Regions from separate parts of the Homo sapiens genome. Here all the other regions are linked to region 5. The links are contacts of gene promoters, found by promoter capture Hi-C in human tissues and cell types (Jung and others, 2019). All regions are on one chromosome and are shown on one strand. The core of a region is centred on a gene start or on the middle of the fragment in contact, and the rest is flanking DNA. Distances in the headings are between cores, read along the strand shown. Region 1 overlaps LOC105372452 (a long non-coding RNA gene). Region 2 overlaps ZNF611 (zinc finger protein 611). Region 3 overlaps LOC122539214 (Zinc finger protein LOC122539214). Region 4 holds the start of ZNF880 (zinc finger protein 880). Region 5 holds the start of ZNF808 (zinc finger protein 808). Region 6 overlaps ZNF480 (zinc finger protein 480).

Region 1 (2,956 bases), core at 28-2,527, 220 kb after region 5:
GGGTAGAAAGACGGCAATTTTTTGTGCTTATGTTTGGCTAAACTTTTTGTTAAGTCACTGTTAACAGCTGGACTCACTTCTGCACTGGGACATGACTGAGTTTGTCCTGTGCAATTGTGGTAGAATTGACCTCGAGGTGCCCAATCTATAATAGTTCCGAATTTATCATTTTGTAATATCACCGCACTATTGGCCACACATTCTTCCCAAACTAAAACTTTTGTGTCTTTTGATCCTTTGGGATTTTTTGGGGGTAAGGCTTTCCTTTAGGCCTAAATTTTAATGATCTTTGATAAGAAAAGTCTTGTAAATAATTTACCTGTGGCCTGAGTGACATTCCACTTACCGCGTGATTAGTGAATCTACTGGTGGTACCGACAGTAGGTACTTCTACCAACCAATTTTTGACTGCAGGCATTAAACATCCTGGTGCTCTCCCGAGGCAAATAGGAGGATAATGATACCCAGTGGAAATATTTATCATCATTCCTTCTTCCTCAGGTTTGGCAGGGCAACGATCATCTGTGGGGCCAGGTACCCATACACTATTATTAACGTATACTTCAATAGGATTATCCATCCATGAGACTGCCCGAATTAAGGGCGGGAAAGGCACATAGGCCCAGTAGGTATAATTAGCTGCAGCTGCTCCTGCAGGCGTGGGGAGACTTACCACCGTTGATACAATCATCAAAGCTGCAAGCAGCGTGTTCTCTGGAGTTTGTGTCACCTTTGTGTTCTCTAGGCTTTTTTAAGCTAACTGTGTCAGCTTTTAAATTGTGCCCAAGTTGGCAGCTCCGCCTTCGTGGTGGATGGCAACTTCATCTGTTTTTTTGACATCACCATTTTGTTTATCTTGTGAGTCAATGGTGCTCGATTGCGGTGTTTCCGTCTCTGTGGAGGCGCTTTTTTTTTTGTTTGTTTGCATCTCTAATGGGTTCATTGTAGAACTTTAAATGTCTAGTGGGTATCTAAACAGGAAGCTGATTTTCTCCTGGTGAAACACAAGCAAAACCTCTCCCCCACGTTACCACCTTCCCTATTTCTCATGTCTTATTGTTGTTGTCTTTTTATCAAATCAGTTTTCCTTCACGTAGGCTGTTCTTTTTACCAGTAAGATGTTGTTTTGCAGAGGTAGTAGTCTGATTTCTATAAGTGTTTAAAACATTTAAAGTATAGAGTGCTAGATTAAGTTGCATCTGAGGAGTGGTACACTCCTTACTGTCTCCCCCTTCTCTTTAACTGAGTTTTGAGTGTTCTATTAGTTTTTTTAACTATGGCCTGTCCTTGGGAATTATAGGGAATTCCTGTTTTGTGTGTAATTTTCTACTGATTTCAGAATTTTTGGAAAGCTTTACTATAGTATCCAGGTGCATTGTCAGTTTTGATTTTTTTCTGGAACTCCCATGACAGCAAAACAAGATAATAAATGTTTTTTCACATGGGAAGTACTTTCTCCTGTCTGGCAAGTTGCCCACATGAAATGTGAATAAGTACCAACTGTTACACGGACACATCATAATCTTTTAAATGAAGGTACATGTGTGACATCTATTTGCCATAATGCATTAGGACATAGACTTCTGGGATTAACTCCTGCCTCTTGAGTGGGCAGGTGTAGGACTTGACACTGGGTGCAATGTTGTACAATATCTTTTGCCTGTTTTCATGTGACATCAAATTTGTTTTTTAATCCTGCTGCATTTACATGAGTCAAAGCATGAAGTTCTTGTGCTTTTATGAATGCAGATGGTACCAGTAAGTCAGCTTGTTCATTTGCTTTAGCTAAAGGCCCTGGTAAATTAGTGTGTGCTAAAATATGAGTAATATGAAATGGGAAATTTTTTTTTCAGTTTGTTGTAATAAACTGAACAGCTCGTTTAACTGATCATCTATGCTATATTTAATTAGAGCTGTCTCAACATCCCTTGTAGCCTGCGCTACATATGCAGAATCTGATACAATATTAATAGGTTGATCAAAGTCTTATAACACTGTAATGACTGCAACCAACTCTGCTCTTTGAGCCGATTGATATTGAGTTTTGATGACTCGCTGTTTTGGCCCTGTGTAAGCTGCTTTTCTATTGCTGGAAGCATCAGTAAACACTGTCAGAGCATTTTCCAAAGGTTTATGTCTGGTAATTTTAGGTAAAATCCAAGTAGTCAATTTTAAAAACTGGAAGATTTTTGTTTTTGGGTAATGATTATCAATAATTCCCACAAAATTAGTAAGACCAATCTGCCATGCATCAGAATTGATAAAGGCTTGTCTAACCTGTTCCTTGTTTAAAGGAACAACTATTTTGTCTGCGTCATTTTCACACAATTTTATTATTTGTAATCTTGCCTGACCAATTAATGTAGCTATTTGATCCAAGAACAATGTAAAAGTCTTAATTGTACTGTGAGGAAGGAATGACCACTCCACAAGATCAGTATTTTGAACAATGATGTCTGTTGGAGAATGTGCAGTAGCAAAAATCAAAAGTTGGAGTGGGGTTAAGGGACCTTTGTGCTGACTGATTTTTTTCTTTTACTAACTTAATTTTTTTTGTTGCCTCTGGGGTTAATATTCTTTTACTATTTAAGTCTGGGTCCCCTCTTAAGATAGAGAACAAATTTGACATGGCATAAGTAGGAATGCCTAGAGTTGGCTGAATGTAATTAATATCTCCTAGCAAGTTTTGAAAGTCATTTAATGTTTTTAATGTGTCTTTTCTTATTTCTACTTTTTGTGGCTTAATTTTTCTATTTTCTATCTGCATCTCTAAATAATGAAAAGGAGTAGAGGTTTGAATCTTATCAGATGCTATTGCCAGTCTTGCGTTGGCAACCTCTGCTTGCAGAAATGTGTAACAGTCAGTTAATTTGTCTCTTGTTTCTGCAGCACACAAAATATCATCAACATAATGAATGATATAACAGTCTGAAAACTTATCTCTAACTGGTTGAAG
Region 2 (3,146 bases), core at 348-2,847, 180 kb after region 5:
AACCTAGCCAGGAGTGGTGGAGGGCACCTGTAATCCCAACTACTTGGTAGGCTGAGGCAGGAGAATCACTTGAACCCAGGAGGCAGACGTTGTAGTGACACCAGATCGCACCATTGCAGTCCAGCCTGGGCAACAAGAGCAAAACTCCATCTCAAAAAAAAACCCCCAAAAAAACAAAAAGAAAAACAAAAAAAAAACCGAGGCTGGGAGCAGTGGCTCACACCTGTAATCTCATCACATTGGGAGGCCAAGTCGGGTGGATCACAAGGTCAGGATTTGAGACCAGCCTGACAAACGTGATGAAACCCCGTCTCTACTAAAAATACAAAAATTAGCCAGGCATGCTGGTGGGTGCCTGTAATTCCAGCTACTCAGGAGACTGAGGCAGGAGCATCACTTGATCCCAGGAGGCAGAGGTTGCAGTGAGCTGAGATTGCACCACTGCCCTCCATCCAAGGCGACAGAGCAAGATTCCATTTCAAAAAAGAAAAGAAAAGAATACACGGGTGCTTTTGGAGGAGCGTTCTATGCCAATCCAGCCCATGTTTCAACATTTTTCCAGAATGGACCAGAGGGCCTTGAGGGAAACACGCAATAAATAGCTCCCAGATCAAGATTTTAACAAAGGACATAAGGAAAGAAAACTGAAAAACAGACTAACTGGTTAAAGTACATTTTGATGTTTAGTTAAAAGGCCACTGACATATTTACCAAGTACACACTGAAACAATCAAACTTAAGTTTAGGTACCAAAGGTTTTCAATAAATAACAAAGACTAGAAAGCATGCAGACATTGATATGAACTGGATGCAACTAATTTAAAACAGCAACTATTTTGAAATTGTTTTTTAAAAAAATCTAACGAATTCTGGGGTCAACCGGAAAATAACTGGAAAATATACAAGTACAGAAACGAATGATGTGAGCTGATTATAGGATGCTGCAAAGGCATCTTTCAGAAGTCATTATGTATTAAGAAATACAACTTTTATAACTTAGATTTATCTCAAACTCAAACTGCAAAATAAATAAATAAATAAATAAAAAATAAAGAGAGAAATGAAGAGGAACCAGAAAGAAAAAGAAGGAAGTCCATTATACGAGAAGAAAAGCATTTTTGAGGTCTTTTTTTGTTATTTTTTGTTTGTTTGAGATGGAGACTCACTCTGCCACCCAGGCTGCAGTATAGTGGCACAATTTTGGTTCACTGCAACTTCTACCTCCTAGGTTTAAGCAATTCTCATGCCCCAGCCTCCCAAGTAGCTGGAACTAAAGGTGCACACCAACACCCCCGGCTAACTTTTGTATTTTTAGTAGAGATGGGGTTTCACCATGTTAGGGTGCTTTTGAAATTGTGACCTTAGGTGACCAGTTCACATGGGTCGACCAAAGTACTCTGATTGCAGGGATGAGCCACCACGTACCGAGGCTTTGATATCCTTTTTTTTTTTTTTTTTTTTGAGATAGACTCTCACTCTGTCGCCCAGGCTGGAGCCCAGTGGTGCGATCTCGACTCCCTGCAAGCTCCGCCTCACAGGTTCATGCCATTCTCCTGCCTCAGCATCTGGAGTAGCTGGGACTACAGGCGCCAGCCACCATGCCCAGCTAATTTTTTGTATTTTTAGTAGAGACAGGGATTCACCCTGTTAGCCAGGAAAGTCTCGATCTCCTGACCCCGTGATCTGCCTGCCTCGGCCTCCCAAAGTGCTGGGATTATAGGCATGAGCCTCCGTGCCTGGCCTCATATCCCTTTTAAAAATTACTATGATATATCCCTTTCAAAAAGTACTAACTGAAAAAAGTACTATCTCTTTAAAAAGTACTGGCTCAAAAAAATAATAGAAAATAAGAAACAAAAAACAGGCTGAGAAAAGTGGCTCACATCTGTTGGCCATGCTGGTTTCAAACTCCTGACCTCAAGTGACCTATGTGCCTTGGCCTCCCGACGTGCTGGGATTACAGGTCGGAGCCACCACACCTGGCCCCATCCTCTTAACATAAACACTTGAATGTCAATAAAGGCTTGAACTCAATGTTAAGTCAACACAAACTCAAGTCAATGCTGAATTGACTCCAATGTCAATTAATGCTTGATGGTTTGCTATACTCATTTCATTGGGAACGGTTATCTCAAAAATGAATTTTCTGATGTTCTGCATGGAGTGATCTTGGACTGAAGACCTTGCCACACTGATGACATTTGTAAGATTTCTGTCCAGTATAGATTCTCTGATGTCTAATGACGTGTGAACGTGAAGCAAAGGCTTTGCCACAATCATCACACTTGTGAGGTTTCTCTCCTGTATAAATTCTCCTATGTTTTGCATAGGATGAAGCTTGACTGAAGACCTTGGCACAGTCATGACATTTGTAAGGTTTCTCTCCAGTATGAGTTCACCGATGACCTGCAATATGTGAACGATCTCTGAAAAATTTGCCACATTTATTACACTTGTAAGATCTCTCTTCATTATGGATTCTCCAATGATTTGTAATCGTTGTAGCATTACTGAAGACTTTGTGACAATCATTACATTAGTCAAGTTTCCCTACACCATGAATTGCCTGATGGTGAATAAGTGTTGACTGCTTGCCAAAGGCTTTGCCACACTCATTACACTTGTAAGGTTTCTCTCCAGTGTGAAGTCCAGTATGTTGTTCCAGGTGTGAATCACTCCCAAGTCTTGTCAGAAACCTTACATTTGTAAGCTTTCTCTCCAGTATAAATTCTCCTATGTCTTTAAGGTGTGATTTCCAAATGGAAACTTTGTCACATGCTTCACATTTCTAAGGTTTCTCTCCAGTATGAATTCTATGATGACGTGAAAGGTGTGATTGTTGATTAAAAGCCTTCCCACATTCATTACACTTGTAAGGTTTCTCTGCAGTGTGAATTCTGGTATGTCTTGACAGGAGTGAATTACGCACGAAAGCCTTGTCACAAATTGTACATTTGTAAGATTTCTCTCCAGTATGAAGTCTACGATGGTATATAAGGGATGAGCAGTGACGGAAGGTATTGCCACACTCATTACACTTGTAAGGTTTCTCACCACTATGAAGTCTACGATGGCAATGAAGGGATGACCTGCGACTGAAGGTCTTGCTGCACTCATTACACTTGTAAGGTTTCTCACCACTATGA
Region 3 (3,254 bases), core at 83-2,582, 150 kb after region 5:
GATTTATTTTCATATAGAGAAAGATCATGAAATATTACTAAGAATACATTGCAGTCAAGTTATTCCGTTTTACTTGGGCCCTGAAAAAATATAACTAAGTTATAAAATTGGCTGGGCACATTGACTCACACCTGTAATCCCAGCACTTTGGGAGGTCGAGGCAGGTGGATGACCCAGAGGTCAGGAGATTGAGACTAGCCTGGCTAACATGGTGAAACCCCATCTGTACTAAAAATACAACAATTAGCTGGGTAAGGTGGCACAAAACTGTAATCTCAGCTACTCAGGAGATTGAGGCAGGAGAATCTCTTGAATCCAGGAGGCAGAGGTTGCAGTGAGCAAAGATCTCACCACAGCTCTCCAGCCTGAGCAAAAGAGTGAGATTCTGTCTCAAAAAAATAAAAATAAAAATAAAATGAAATTATAAATCACCTCATTTCTGCATGTAATACTTTTATGACTATATCTGTAAGTTAACATGTACTATGAACTATGTTTTTCTCCCACATCCCTAGCTATGGAAGAATTCATCTATCAAACACTAGTAATTAGCTAAAATATGATTACATTTAGAAGGGAAATTAGCATATCTAGAATATTAGCAAGTTTAAAAAAGCATAATGTCGTCAGGCATGGTGGCTTGTGCCTGTAATCCGAGCATGATGGGAGGCTGAGGCAGGAGGATGGCTAGTGCCCAACAGTTGGAGTCCAGCCTAGGCAACATAGCACCTCATCTTTATGTTTTAAAAATTAATTAAGTTACTTATTTATTTTTGAGATTGAGTTTGGTTCTTGTTGCCTAGGCTGGGGTGCAATGGCACGGTCTCGGCTCACTGCAACATCTGCCTCCTGGGTTCAAATGATTCTCTTGCCTCAGCCTCCCAGGTAGCTGGGATTATTGGTGCTCGCCATCATGCTGGGTTAATTTTTGTATTTTTAGTAGAGACGGGGTTTCACCGTGTTGGCCAGGCTGGTCTCCAAATCCTGACCTTCCAAAGTGCTGGGATTACAGACATGAGCCACCGTGCATGGCAAAAAAGTTTATTTTAATCAGAAATAATTAATAAATAGAACATGATAATGGGTACAAAAAATAGAATAAGACCTATTATTTCATAACACAACAGAATGACTGTAGTCAATGATTAAATTGTACATATAAAAATGGGGATGGCCAGGTGTGGTGGCTCAAACCTATAAGCCCTGTCTCTACCAAAAATACAAAAAAAACTGGATGTGAGCCTGTAATCCCAGCTACTCAGGAGACTGAGGCATGAGAATCACTTAAACCCAGGGAGCAGAGGTTGCAGTGAGTGGAGATTGCACCACTGCATTCCAGACTGTGCGAAAGAGCTGGACTCCATCTCAAAAAACTAAACAAATGGCTGGGCACAGTGGCTCATGCTTGAATCCCAGCACTTTGGGAGCCAAGATGGGTGGATCCCCTGAGGTCAAGAGTTCGAGACCAGCCTGACCAACATGGTATAACCCTGTCTCTAAAAAAATACAAAATTAGCCGAGGGTGATGGCGCATGCCTGTAATCTCAGATATTCAGGAGGCTGTGGCAGGAGAATCATTTGAGCCAAGAAGGCAGAGGTTGCAGTGAGCTGAGATCGCACCACTACACTCCAGGGTACACAAGAAGAGTGTAACTCCATCACACACACACACACACACAAAATGCTATAAACAGAACATCAGAAAAAAAATATAGAAAGTCACATGTATTTAAAAACCTTAAGCTTTTGAAAGCTGTTTTCCCAAGTAATCAAAAATGAGCCAATAACGATGCAAATATTATCTTTTTGTTTTTTGTTTTTTCTGGAGACAGAGATCATGCAACTGCACTCTAGCCTGGGTGACAGAGTGAGACTCCAACTCAAAAAAATAAATAAATAAAAAATTATTAGGCCAGGAGCAGTGGCTCTTTGGGAGGCTGAGGTGGGCCAATCACCTCAGGTCAAAAGTTCGAGACCAGCCTGGTCAACATGGTGCAACCCTATCTCTACTAAAAATACAAAAAATTAACCGGGCCTGGTGGTGTGTGCCTGTAATCCCAGCTACTAGGGAGGCTGAGGCAGGAGAATTGGTTGAAGCTGAGAGGTGGAGGCCGCAGTGAGTCGAGATCATGCCACTGCCCTGCAGCCTGGGTAACAGAGTGAGACTCCATCTCAAAAAAAAAAAAAAAAAAAAAAATTACCAATGTCAACTGAACTTGGAAAGCACCACACATTTGCACACTCACACAGACACAACCCTCTGATATGGCTCTAGACCAAATCCACAGGTTAAAAAGCCCTCAAATGAACTCTTGGGCCTTAAGCCTTTCAAAAGATCACCTGTTTCCTGTGAGGTTGGGGCTGTGGCCCTGATGTGTGAAGACTTAGGACCATCCTGTCATCATAGAAACCCTAAACAAAATAAAGAAGGAAATTTACCTCAACAATATAAAAGACCATCCATGAAATGACCACAGCTGAAATAACCAATCAGGAAAAATTGAATGCTTTTCCTGTAGGATCTCACATGATGCTAGAACGTTCTCACCCTTTCTATTCAATCAATACTGACTGTCCTAGCCAGAGCAATGAAATAGCAAAAGAAATCAAACTCATCCAAATCAGAAAGAAATAAATAAAATTTTATTTGTTTGTAGATGACACGATCCTCTGTGTAGAAAGTCACAAAGACTCAACCAAAATACAAGTGGAACTAATAAACATTCAGTGGATTTGCAGAGTACAATATTAGCACCAAAATTAGTTGAATTTCCATGCAATAACAGTAAAAAATTTTAAAAGGAAATTAAGAAAACACTTCCATTTTCTAGAGAATTTAAACTAAGATATACTTAGGAATAAACGTAAAAATGCGAGAAGTTTCTACCTTGAAATCTATGAACATTGATCAAAATGATTAAAAACATAGAGATACAACCAATATTGATAGATTGGAAAACTTAATCTCGTTAAATGATTATACAACCCAAGATGATTTAGATTTAACACAACGCCCATACAAATCCCTATCAGTTTTTGTCAAAGAAACAAAAAACCGGCTGGGAAAAGTGGCTAACCTCTGTTGGCCAGGCTGGTCTAAAACTTCTGACATCAAGTGATCTACCCACCTTGGGCTCCCAAAGTGCTGGGATTACAGGCATGAGCCACCACGGCCAGCTACTCTAAGCTATTTCTGACAAGACAGTGAAATGAGTGACACAGGAAAAGGGGCATCTAATCACCAATGTCACTGA
Region 4 (3,281 bases), core at 494-2,993, 160 kb before region 5:
TGGTGACAGAGCAAGGCTCCGTCTCAAAAAAAAAAAAATAATAATAATACTGTAACACAATTTCTTTTTGTACTTCTAGTGTTCAGTGACATCATTTGAAAATATTAATGTTCACCCATCTTCTTTTTAAGTCACACACAGAAAGGGAATTTTGTTTTGGTACATTAACTAGAAACTTCATATAGTCACCCTCACAACTCTTTTGGTAATTTGAATTTTTGACCACTCTTCTGGAACTTGTTTGAAGTCCCCCTAAGGTTTGGCTTGGATCTTGAGAATGATGATCCCATACACTGATATGGTTTGAGAGTGTTTATTATATAATGAGGCTCTGTGGGGGAAAGCAGGGTATACTTTTCCAGCTGGTCCAAAAGTGGCTTCAGAGAACTGGGATAGGTGACTGGCTTGGGGTGTCATGATTGCTAAAGGGTAGGGCTGGGGCGGGGATACCCACTACCCATACTGGAAACTTAGTTACAATTCACACCTAGCATGTATATTTTTATATTTTTTGTATGTATATATATTTTTACATTTTTTTCCTACATTGCCTCCAAATTCTATGTTTAATACATTTCTTCCCTGTTTTGCTCTGGTGAAAACTTTAGGGGACAAATAAATGAGTGCTGTTTGGAGACAAAATTTTGTGACATGGGACTGGGCATTGTGGCGTGTGCCTGTAGTCCCAGCTACTTGGGAGGCTGAGATGGGAGGATCACTTGATGCCAGGAGGTCGAGGCTGCAGTCAGTGAGCTGTCTGCACTTCAGCCTGAAAGACAGAGGGAGACCATCTCAAAAAAAAAAAAAAAAAAAAAAAAAAAGTTGTGACCTGAGTATGTCCATAAGACAATGGCAGGTATACACTAGGATTAATATAAATATGAAAAAAAAAAAAAAACTTGGCCGGGTGCGGTGGCTCACGCCTGTAATCCCAACATTTTGGGAGGCCAAGGCAGGCGGATCACGAGGTCAGGAGTTCAAGACCAGCCTGGCCAACATGGAGAAACCCTGTCTCTATTAAAAGTACAAAAAAGTAGCCCGGTGTGGTGGTGGGCGCCTGTAATCCCAGCTACTCGGGAGACTGAGGCAGGAGAATCGCTTGAACCCAGGCGGCGGAGGTTGCAGTGAGCCGAGATCGCGCCACTTCACTCCAGCCTGGGCAAAAGAACGAAACTCTGTCTCCAAAAAAAAAAAAAAAAAAAAAAGGAAATTGCACATTCCGCCCTGGCAGGGTTTTGCATTTCATATTTTAATTTGCATCCCCTTCATAAACAATTCAAGGACTTTAAAATTCCGGAAACTAGTGTTTATTATTCATTTATATTTATTTATTTTAATTATTTATTTCCAATTTGTTATTTATGATTATGTATTTATTAGGCGCAAGGTTTCTCTCTCATGCCCAGGCGGGAGTGCAGCGCACGACCTCGGCTCACTGCAGCCTCCACCTCATGGGCTCAAGCGATCCTCCCACCTCAGCATCCGGGTAGCTAGGACCACATGCGAGCGCCCCTACAGCCGATTTAAAATTAATTTTAATAGCAGGAATTTTCCTGGATCTAATCATCAACAAACTTTCCCTCTGCCGGGACACAATCTATTTCCAGATAGCTGAGTTCTTCCAGTCTCCACGGCAGGTCTAGCCTCCAAAACGAGACGAGCTGGGAGCGAGGCGGAGGGAAGCGCAGGCTCCGCCCAATCCCACCCGGGCCTGGCCTCGCCTCGCCTCTCAGCTGCGCGCGCAGTTTCCTGGAGACCCGGAAGCAGATTACGTGGAGTGACGGTCATGCTGCGGCGTGTGAGTTTCCCTTTGTTTAGATTAAATCTGGGATGCTGAGTCCCCTCGCGCTTCTGTACCCGGCATCTCAGGGGTCACACAGACCTTGAAATCCCCGCATCGCTCCCTCCACCCCGACTAAACTCAGACGTTCTAATGAGAGTCTGGCGGTCGCTTCCCTGAGTGTTAAAATCGCTCGGAGGCTGGTCCTGTCCCCGGTCTTTCACCACAGGGCCATGTAGACAGCTCCTGTCGCGGAGTTTGCCTGCTTCAAATCCTTCAGTGACCCCTAGACACGGCCCGCGCTGCGTAAAGTTCTCACCCGCGAGATGGATCCACGTCTTTCCGGTCCCCCAAGCCTCGCCCTCTTTTCACAGGCCTGCCCCCTTTTCTGTGCCTTAAATGAGAGGAAATCGATCTGATGTTTACTGCTGATTGTGATGTTTCAGCCTCCATTGGGCTTTTGCTAACACCTAAATAAATATTTAGTGGACAAAATTAGGTTAGTGCAAAAGTAATGGCAAACCGCGATCACTTTTGCACCAACCTAATATTTATGGGCCGGGGCTGGAATTCCATCTTCTCCGGAGGCCCAGGCTGGAGAATTCCTTGAGCACAGGAGTTTGAGACCACTCTGGACAACATAGTGAGACCCCCATCTCAATTTTTGAAACATATGTTTCAGTACGGGTATTTAATAGAGATTGGAATTCTCGTTTCTATGTTTTTACATGGTCTGACTTTTTGAAATAGTTTGAAATAATGTTTATAAACTGAATTGAGCACAGTTTATACATTTTTATTGTTGCAAACATGCTGAAATGCACATTTGCAAAAACAACGACAGCCAGGCACAGTGGTGCACGCTTGTCATTCGAGTTACTCGGAGAGGGTGTCATTTGAGGCCAGGAATTCAAGGCTGTAGTGTGCCATGAATAAGCCACTGCACTGCAACCTGGACACATTAAAAAACGAACAAAGACAAATATCTAAAAAAGAGGTTATTGACAGACAACTCTTTCAGTTGTCACATATATGTTTACTAGAGTATATGTGTGTGAATGTATATATGTATATGAATAAGTGTGTACATGTGATGTGTGTGGATGAGTGCACAGATGAGCAAGTCTATTGTTTTTATCAAAGGCGCATCATCAGTTTATATACGTCTTATATCTTTTAACAGTTGAAATTACATCTTATATATTTTCATGACCTTAAAATTGTTCTACACTGTTATGATAGTGAGTCTATGGCTGTAAGGATAGTAACCTGTTATGGGGATACATGTGCGACAGTTTCTTGATTTTAATCCCGGAACTTATTTTAACTATACTCAGTTAGGTCATTGTCTGTCAATTTACTTTTGATGCTGATCTGTTATTGTTTGATGTTTTTTTTTTTCTTTTTCTGAGATGGAGTCTCTCTTTGTCACCCAGGCTGGAGTCTCGCTTTGTCACCCAGGCTGGAGTGCAGTGGCACCATCTCAGGTCACTGCAAACTC
Region 5 (3,083 bases), core at 132-2,631:
CATGTTGGCTGACGCATGTAATCCCAGCATTTTGGGAGGCTGACACAGGCAAATAACTTAAAGTGAGGAGTTCGATACCGGCCAGGTCACCGTAGTGATACCCCGTCTCTATGAAAAATACAAAAATTAACCGGGCATCGTGGCACGCGCCTGTAATGCCAGCTGCTCCCGAGGCTGAGGCAGGAGAATCGCTTGAACCCAGGAGGCAGAGGCTGCATTGAGTTGAGATCTCGCCACTGCACTCCAGCCTGGGCAACAGAAATACTGTGTCTCAATAATAGTAATAATAATAATAATAATAATAAAGTAATAGATCTCTTCCACAAATGTGCTGGGACAACTAACTGGATATCCACATGGAAAAGAGTAATGTTGGATCCCTATGTCACACCATCAAAAATTTTATTTAAAAAAGTTTTTTTTTTTTTTTTAAAAAGGGAAAAGGCCCGGGCGCGGTGGCTCACGCCTGTAATCCCAGCACTTTGGGAGGCCGACGTGGGCGGATCACCTGAGGTCGGGAGTTCAGCCTGGCTAACATGGTGAAACCCTGTCTCTACTAAATATACAAAATTAACTGGGCATGGTGGCGCATGCCTGTAGTCCCAGCTACTCGGGAGGCTGAGGCCGGAGTATCGCTTGAAACCAGGAGGCGGAAGTTCTAGTGAGCTGGGATCACTCCACGGCACTCCAGCCTGGGCGACGGAGTGAGACTCTGTCTCCAAAAAAAAAAAAAGGGAAAGAGAGAGAGAGAGACTAGGAAGGGAGACCTGCCGCAGTGGGTGTTACTTTGTCGCCCAGGCTGGCTTGGGACCCCAGGCTCAGCAATTCTCTCCGTTGCTTCCTGAGTAGCTGGGACCTGAGGCTCCCGCCCCCGCGCCTCTGCTGTGTTTAAGCAGCAGGTGGTGACCTCACTCCTTCCTGGCCTAAGCACTCCGTCCCGCACCCCTGGCGGTGGCTTTAAGGAAGTCTCTGAAGCTGAGCTCAGGGTGGACTCTCCCTCCCTAGTGAATGGAGATAGAAAGGGAGAGGACATCTATTCTGTTCCGTGGGCCGTCACCATGACATCGTACATGCCGCCCAGGCAGGGCTTTGCATTTCACATTCTAGTTTGCATCCCGGTTCCAGACAATTCCAGGGCTTTGGAATCATGCCTCAGACTTTCTGGCGCTCTCGCCTCCACAACCTAAAAACAGAGACGCTAGGAGAGAGGCTGAAAGACGCGCAAGTCCCGCCCCGGCCCCGCCCCGGCCCCGCCCTCTGCCGGTTCTAAAGGGCAAGGTCTCAGCGCCTCGCGCCCCGCCGCTACCTCGCCCAGGCCCCGCCCACCTCCTCCCACCTCCCGCCCAGGCCTGGCTTCCGTCCTGCGCGCGGAGATTAACGCAAACCCGGAAGCGGATCGGGTGGAGTGAAGGTCACGTCGCCATGGTGAGTTTTGCTCTGTGTTGCATTAAGTCTCCGCTTCCCAGGTCCCCGCCGCTTCTGTCCCTGGGACGTGGGGTCCCCACAGACCTGGAAATTCTCGCCCGTCTTCCTTCGCCCAGAGCAAATTGAGACAGCCCAGTGAGAGGCCGGGTGTCGCTTCCTTTCGGGTTTAAAGTCGTCTGGAGGCTGGTCCCGTCCCGGGTCTGTCTGCTATAGGGCAATGTATACACTTTCTATTGCGTAGTTTTTCTGCTCAAAACCTTCTTCTGACTCTTCCCTCCTCGCGCTATTTAAAGTCTTCACCCACGAGGTGGATTCTTGCCCGGGGCGCACCTCCCAGCCACCCCTCGTCGGCCCCTGGAGCGTCGCGCCGCAGCCCCAGTCCCAGGGAGGCCGCGTCCTCTGCCTGGTCCTGGGATCTTGCAGACCCCATCCTTCTCCCAAGGCGCCGTCCCCCCTCCTCCCACCTCCCTACTCGTGCCAGAGCCTGCGGCTCCCCAGGTCTCTCCTCCGCAGTCACCGCTTCCATTGAACCCACACTGGGAAGGACGCAGGGCCCTGTCCTGTGACATGGGGTCTTCTTGCCTGCCGAGCTCCAGCCCTTGGAAAACGCGCTCCTCCGGGATGCAGGCGTCTTACTCCAAACCCTCCTGCGATTGTGTGGGCCGAAGGGATCAGGAGACAGACAGCAGTAGAAAACCTGAGACAGAGAAAGAATAAGAAAGGCCCATAACAGATGGCAAAATAGAGGATTGGTGAGGGATATGCCAAGATATGGTGAAAGTGGAAAAAGAAAGCAACAAAATACCTAGAAAAGCAGGTGGAGAAAAGCAACTGGAGAAATGTAGAGAAAAGCTAGATGTACACAGAGATGAAGGACGGCAAGGTAGGGAGAGTGGCAGCAAAGAGGGAGGCTCATCAGAGTGAGGGAGAGAGGGAGGGATTTGGAGCCAGGGCAGACAGAGCAGAGTGGTGCTGGTGTCAAGGAGAACCGAGGGAGAAACACAGCAGGGAGGACACCTGGGGATCTGGGGTGACACAGAGTGGGGACAGGGGAGTATATCAGGGAAGAGAGAATTTAACAGGGAGAGCAGAGGAGGCGCAGAGATGGGTGAAGAGGCAGAAATAGATGGAGATTGAGGACGATTGAAAGATTGGGGAGAAGGAGCAATAAGAGGTTAAATAAGTTGCGAGGATGGAGCAGAAGAGATGGAAGAGAAGGAATAGAGGGAAGAAGGGGGATAAACAGCAGAAGAGAAGAGGGGTACAAAATGAAGAGCAGAATCCCAGGGAGAAAGAAAAGAAAACAAGAGCTAGAGAGAGAAGGGGGAGAATGAGAGATATGTACAGAATTAGGGAGGGAAGCGCAGTAATGAAGAAAGGGGGGCTAGGCACAGTGGCTCACGCCTGTAGTCTCCACACTTTAGGAGACTGAAGCAAGAGAATTGCTTGAGTCTAGGAGTTCGAGACCAGCCTGGGCAACATAGTGAGACCCCTATCTCTGCCAAAAAAAAAAAAAAGGAAATAACGGGGCATAATCGTGTGCACCTGTACTCCCAGCTGCTCTGGAGGTGGAGGTAGGAGGATGACTTGAGCTCAGGAGGTCCAGGCTGCAGTGAACTGAGATCATGCCACTACACTGCAGCCTGGTCAACAGAGCG
Region 6 (2,985 bases), core at 177-2,676, 210 kb before region 5:
CTGGCCTTGACCATGGGTTTTTAAGTATCTCTTCAAGATGCTGTGTTTACTTTCATTTTATTTTTCATTTGTTTGTTTGAGATGGAGTTTCGCTTTTGTTGCCCAGGCTGGAGTGCAATGGTGCAATCTCGGCTAACTGCAACCTCCACCTCCTGGGTTCAAGCAGTTCTCCTGCCTCAGCCTCCTGAGCAGCTGGGATTACAGGTGTGTGCCACCACGCCCAGCTAATTTTTGTATTATTAGTAGAGACAGGGTTTCACCATGTTGACTAGGCTGGTCTCGAACTCCTCACCTCAGGTGATCTGCCTGCCTAGGCCTCCCAAAGTAGTAACATTAAGGGTGTGAGCCAGTGCGCCTGGCCTTTTTCTTTTTTATCTTTATACCCAGATGTGGAATTGTTGCCTATACTGATCATTTGATTTTGGATTCTTTGAGAAAATGTCATACTTGTTTCCATAGTGACTGCACCATTTCAATTTTCCACCAACAGTGGCACAAAATTCTCCTATTTCTCCATATTTTCGACAACACTTGTGATTTTCTGGTGTTTCATTTTTTTCCCTTTTCTTGACAAAACGTATTCTATATGGGTGTGAGGTGATATTCTTTATTGGTGTGAGGAAAAATATTCAGTTTTCTATTTGCATTTCTCTCTAATGATTTGTGATATTTTGCATTTTCTTATATGGTCGTATATCACCTTTGGAAAAATGTGTATTTCTTTCCACATTTCTTAATTCGTTATTTGTTTTGCTTTGTAGGACTTATTTATATATTTTTATTTTATTATTTTAAATAATTATTTATTTATTTTTTGAGACGGAGTCTTGCTCTGTCACCCAGGCTGGATGCAGTGGCGTGATCTCGGCTCACTGGTACCTGCGCCTCCCAGGTTCAAGCAATTCTCCCACCTCAGCCTCCCAAGTAGTTGGGATTACAGGTGCACACCACCATGCCTGGCTAAATTTTTGTATCTTTAATAGAGATGGGGTTTCACTATGTTGGCCAGGCTGGTCTTGAACTCCTGACCTCAGGTGATCTACCTGCTGCAGCCTCTCAAAGTGCTGGGATTACAGGCATGAGCCACCACATCCGGCCTATATATATTTTAGATATTAAGTTTTTATCACAGATATGATATGCAAATATTTTCTCACATATGGTAGGTTTTCTTTACATTGTGGTAATTGTTTTCTTCTATCCACAATAGTTCTCAATTTTGTCATAGTGCATCGTGTGTATATTTACCTTCTTTCCTGTACTATCAATTTTATATCTGGGGAAATGTTGAATCCAATCTCATGAAGCTTTTTACCTATGGTTTTTTCTAGGAGTTTTATCGTTTTAGGTCATGAATAGACTTTAAGTTAATTTTTGCATGGGGTGTAAAGTAAGGGTTCAGCCTCATTCCTTTGCTTGTGGGCATCCTTTTTCTTCAGCACTATTTGATGAAGTGACTGTCCTTTCCTTGTTACATGGTCTTGACATTTTGATTGAACATTATTCTACCAAGTATTTGAGGGTTTGTTTCTGGCTTCTCTATTCTTGCTTTTTTTTTCATTTTTGCATGGGGGGATGGATTCTCGCTCTGTCATCCAAGCTGGAGTGCAGCAGTGAGATCTTGGCTCACTGCAACCTCTGCCTCCTGGGTTCAAGTGATTCTCCTGCCTCAGCCTCCCGAGTAGCTGGGATTACAGGCATGTGCCACCATGCCTGGCTAATTTTTGTATTTTTAGTAGAGATGGGGTTTCACCACGTTAGTCAGTCTGGTCTCAAACTCCTGACCTCAAGCAATCTGCCCGCCTCGGCCTCCCAGAACCCTGAGATTACAGGTGTGAGCCACCACACCTGGGTCATTTTTTACTTTAATGGAGAATTTTATCCTCTCATTTGGGTTACCAGTACTGTCTGGAATCCTTTTATTTCATTTTGAAGGGCTCCCTGTAGCATTTCTTGTTGGACAGGTCTAGAGTAGTAATGAACTTTCTTAGCTCTTCTTTATCGAGGAAAATCTAAATTTCTCCTTTATTTTTGCAGGTGACTTTTGCTAAATATAGTATTCTTGGTTGATTTTAAGCACTTTCAATATGTCATCTCACTGCCTTCTGGCAGGCAAAGTTTCCGCTGGAGAAAGTACATAGTCTTATACCTTTTCCTCTAAATGGCAAATATCTTTTTTGTTGCTCCTGTCAAAATTCTTCCTCTGTCTTTGATGTTTGATAATTTGCTTATAATGTATCTCTGTGTGAATGTCCTTGGGTTCATTTTAATTTGAATGGTCAAGCTTCTTGAATTGTATATTCAGGTCTTTCTTCAGAATTGGGATTTGGACAATTATTTGGACATTATTTCTTCAGTTGCAATTTCTGATCCTCTGTCTTCTCCTTGTGAACCTCTAATAATTTGTATGTTGTTGTGCTTGAGAGCATCCGAAAAATGTATTAGCGTTTATTTGCTTTTCTTCTCTGTTTTTTGTTTTTGGTCTTTGTAGCTGATACTGTGTTTTTTTTTTTTTTTTTTTTTTTTAAATTAGAGTCTTGCTCTGTAGCCCAGGCTGGAGTGTAATGGCTCCATCTTGGCTCACTGCAATCTCTGCCTCCCAGGTTCAAGCGATTCTCCTGCCACAGCCTCCTGAGTAGCTGGGATTACAGGTGCATGCCCCCATGTCCATCTAATTTTTGTATTTTTAGTAGAGACAGGCTTTCACCATGTTGGTCAGGCTGGTCTCAAACTCCTGACCTAGTGATCCTCCTGCCTTGGCCTCCCAAAGTGCTGGGATTACAAGCGTGAGCCACTGTGCCTGGTGGAGCTGATACTTTTGAATAACTGACCTTTAAGTTTGCTCATTCTTTTTGGTGCTCTATCCATCTGCTGTTGAGCACCTAATGAATTTTTACTTTATTTATTGTGTTTCAGCTCCAGAATGTTTTTTGTTTCCTCCTTTGTTTAATATCCTCCTTCTCATGTATTGTTTTTCTGATTTCA

Evidence for each region. The method cuts DNA at HindIII sites, captures the fragments that hold promoters and counts their contacts. A contact is called where the count stands out against the background at its distance.
Region 1: a fragment that was not itself captured here is called in contact with the fragment with the promoter of ZNF808 in region 5 in 2 of the 25 tissues and cell types used here (hippocampus and neural progenitor cells).
Region 2: a fragment that was not itself captured here is called in contact with the fragment with the promoter of ZNF808 in region 5 in 2 of the 25 tissues and cell types used here (H1 embryonic stem cells and stomach).
Region 3: a fragment that was not itself captured here is called in contact with the fragment with the promoter of ZNF808 in region 5 in 9 of the 25 tissues and cell types used here (H1 embryonic stem cells, adrenal gland, aorta and 6 more).
Region 4: a contact is called between the fragment with the promoter of ZNF880 here and the fragment with the promoter of ZNF808 in region 5, in 1 of the 25 tissues and cell types used here (liver).
Region 6: a fragment that was not itself captured here is called in contact with the fragment with the promoter of ZNF808 in region 5 in 3 of the 25 tissues and cell types used here (adrenal gland, lymphoblastoid cells and mesendoderm cells).

The regions. Positions count from the first base shown.
Region 1 is chr19:52,745,287-52,748,242 of GRCh38, forward strand. The region is part of intron 1 of LOC105372452 (a long non-coding RNA gene); the gene reads left to right. Among named protein-coding and RNA genes, the nearest start is that of ZNF611, 12 kb to the left of the region's middle. The HindIII fragment of the contact is 5,759 bases long and covers 1-2,956 here.
Region 2 is chr19:52,702,149-52,705,294 of GRCh38, forward strand. ZNF611 (zinc finger protein 611) reads right to left here. Exons shown (of 6, transcript NM_001161499.2): 6 at 665-3,146. The coding sequence ends at 2,789. Among named protein-coding and RNA genes, the nearest start is that of ZNF611, 31 kb to the right of the region's middle. The HindIII fragment of the contact is 3,945 bases long and covers 1-3,146 here.
Region 3 is chr19:52,671,842-52,675,095 of GRCh38, forward strand. The region is part of intron 1 of LOC122539214 (Zinc finger protein LOC122539214); the gene reads right to left. It also overlaps a transcript of ZNF83 not described here. Among named protein-coding and RNA genes, the nearest start is that of ZNF83, 35 kb to the left of the region's middle. RefSeq lists an enhancer at 2,169-2,668. The HindIII fragment of the contact is 8,097 bases long and covers 1-3,254 here.
Region 4 is chr19:52,368,180-52,371,460 of GRCh38, forward strand. ZNF880 (zinc finger protein 880) reads left to right here and starts at 1,744. Exons shown (of 4, transcript NM_001145434.2): 1 at 1,744-1,798. The coding sequence starts at 1,787. RefSeq lists enhancers at 1,426-1,725, 1,736-1,845, 2,046-2,185. The HindIII fragment of the contact is 7,170 bases long and covers 1-3,281 here.
Region 5 is chr19:52,526,287-52,529,369 of GRCh38, forward strand. ZNF808 (zinc finger protein 808) reads left to right here and starts at 1,382. Exons shown (of 5, transcript NM_001039886.4): 1 at 1,382-1,425. RefSeq lists enhancers at 1-827, 828-1,655. The HindIII fragment of the contact is 14,459 bases long and covers 1-3,083 here.
Region 6 is chr19:52,317,310-52,320,294 of GRCh38, forward strand. All of the region lies in intron 4 of ZNF480 (zinc finger protein 480), which reads left to right. Among named protein-coding and RNA genes, the nearest start is that of ZNF610, 17 kb to the right of the region's middle. The HindIII fragment of the contact is 6,068 bases long and covers 1-2,985 here.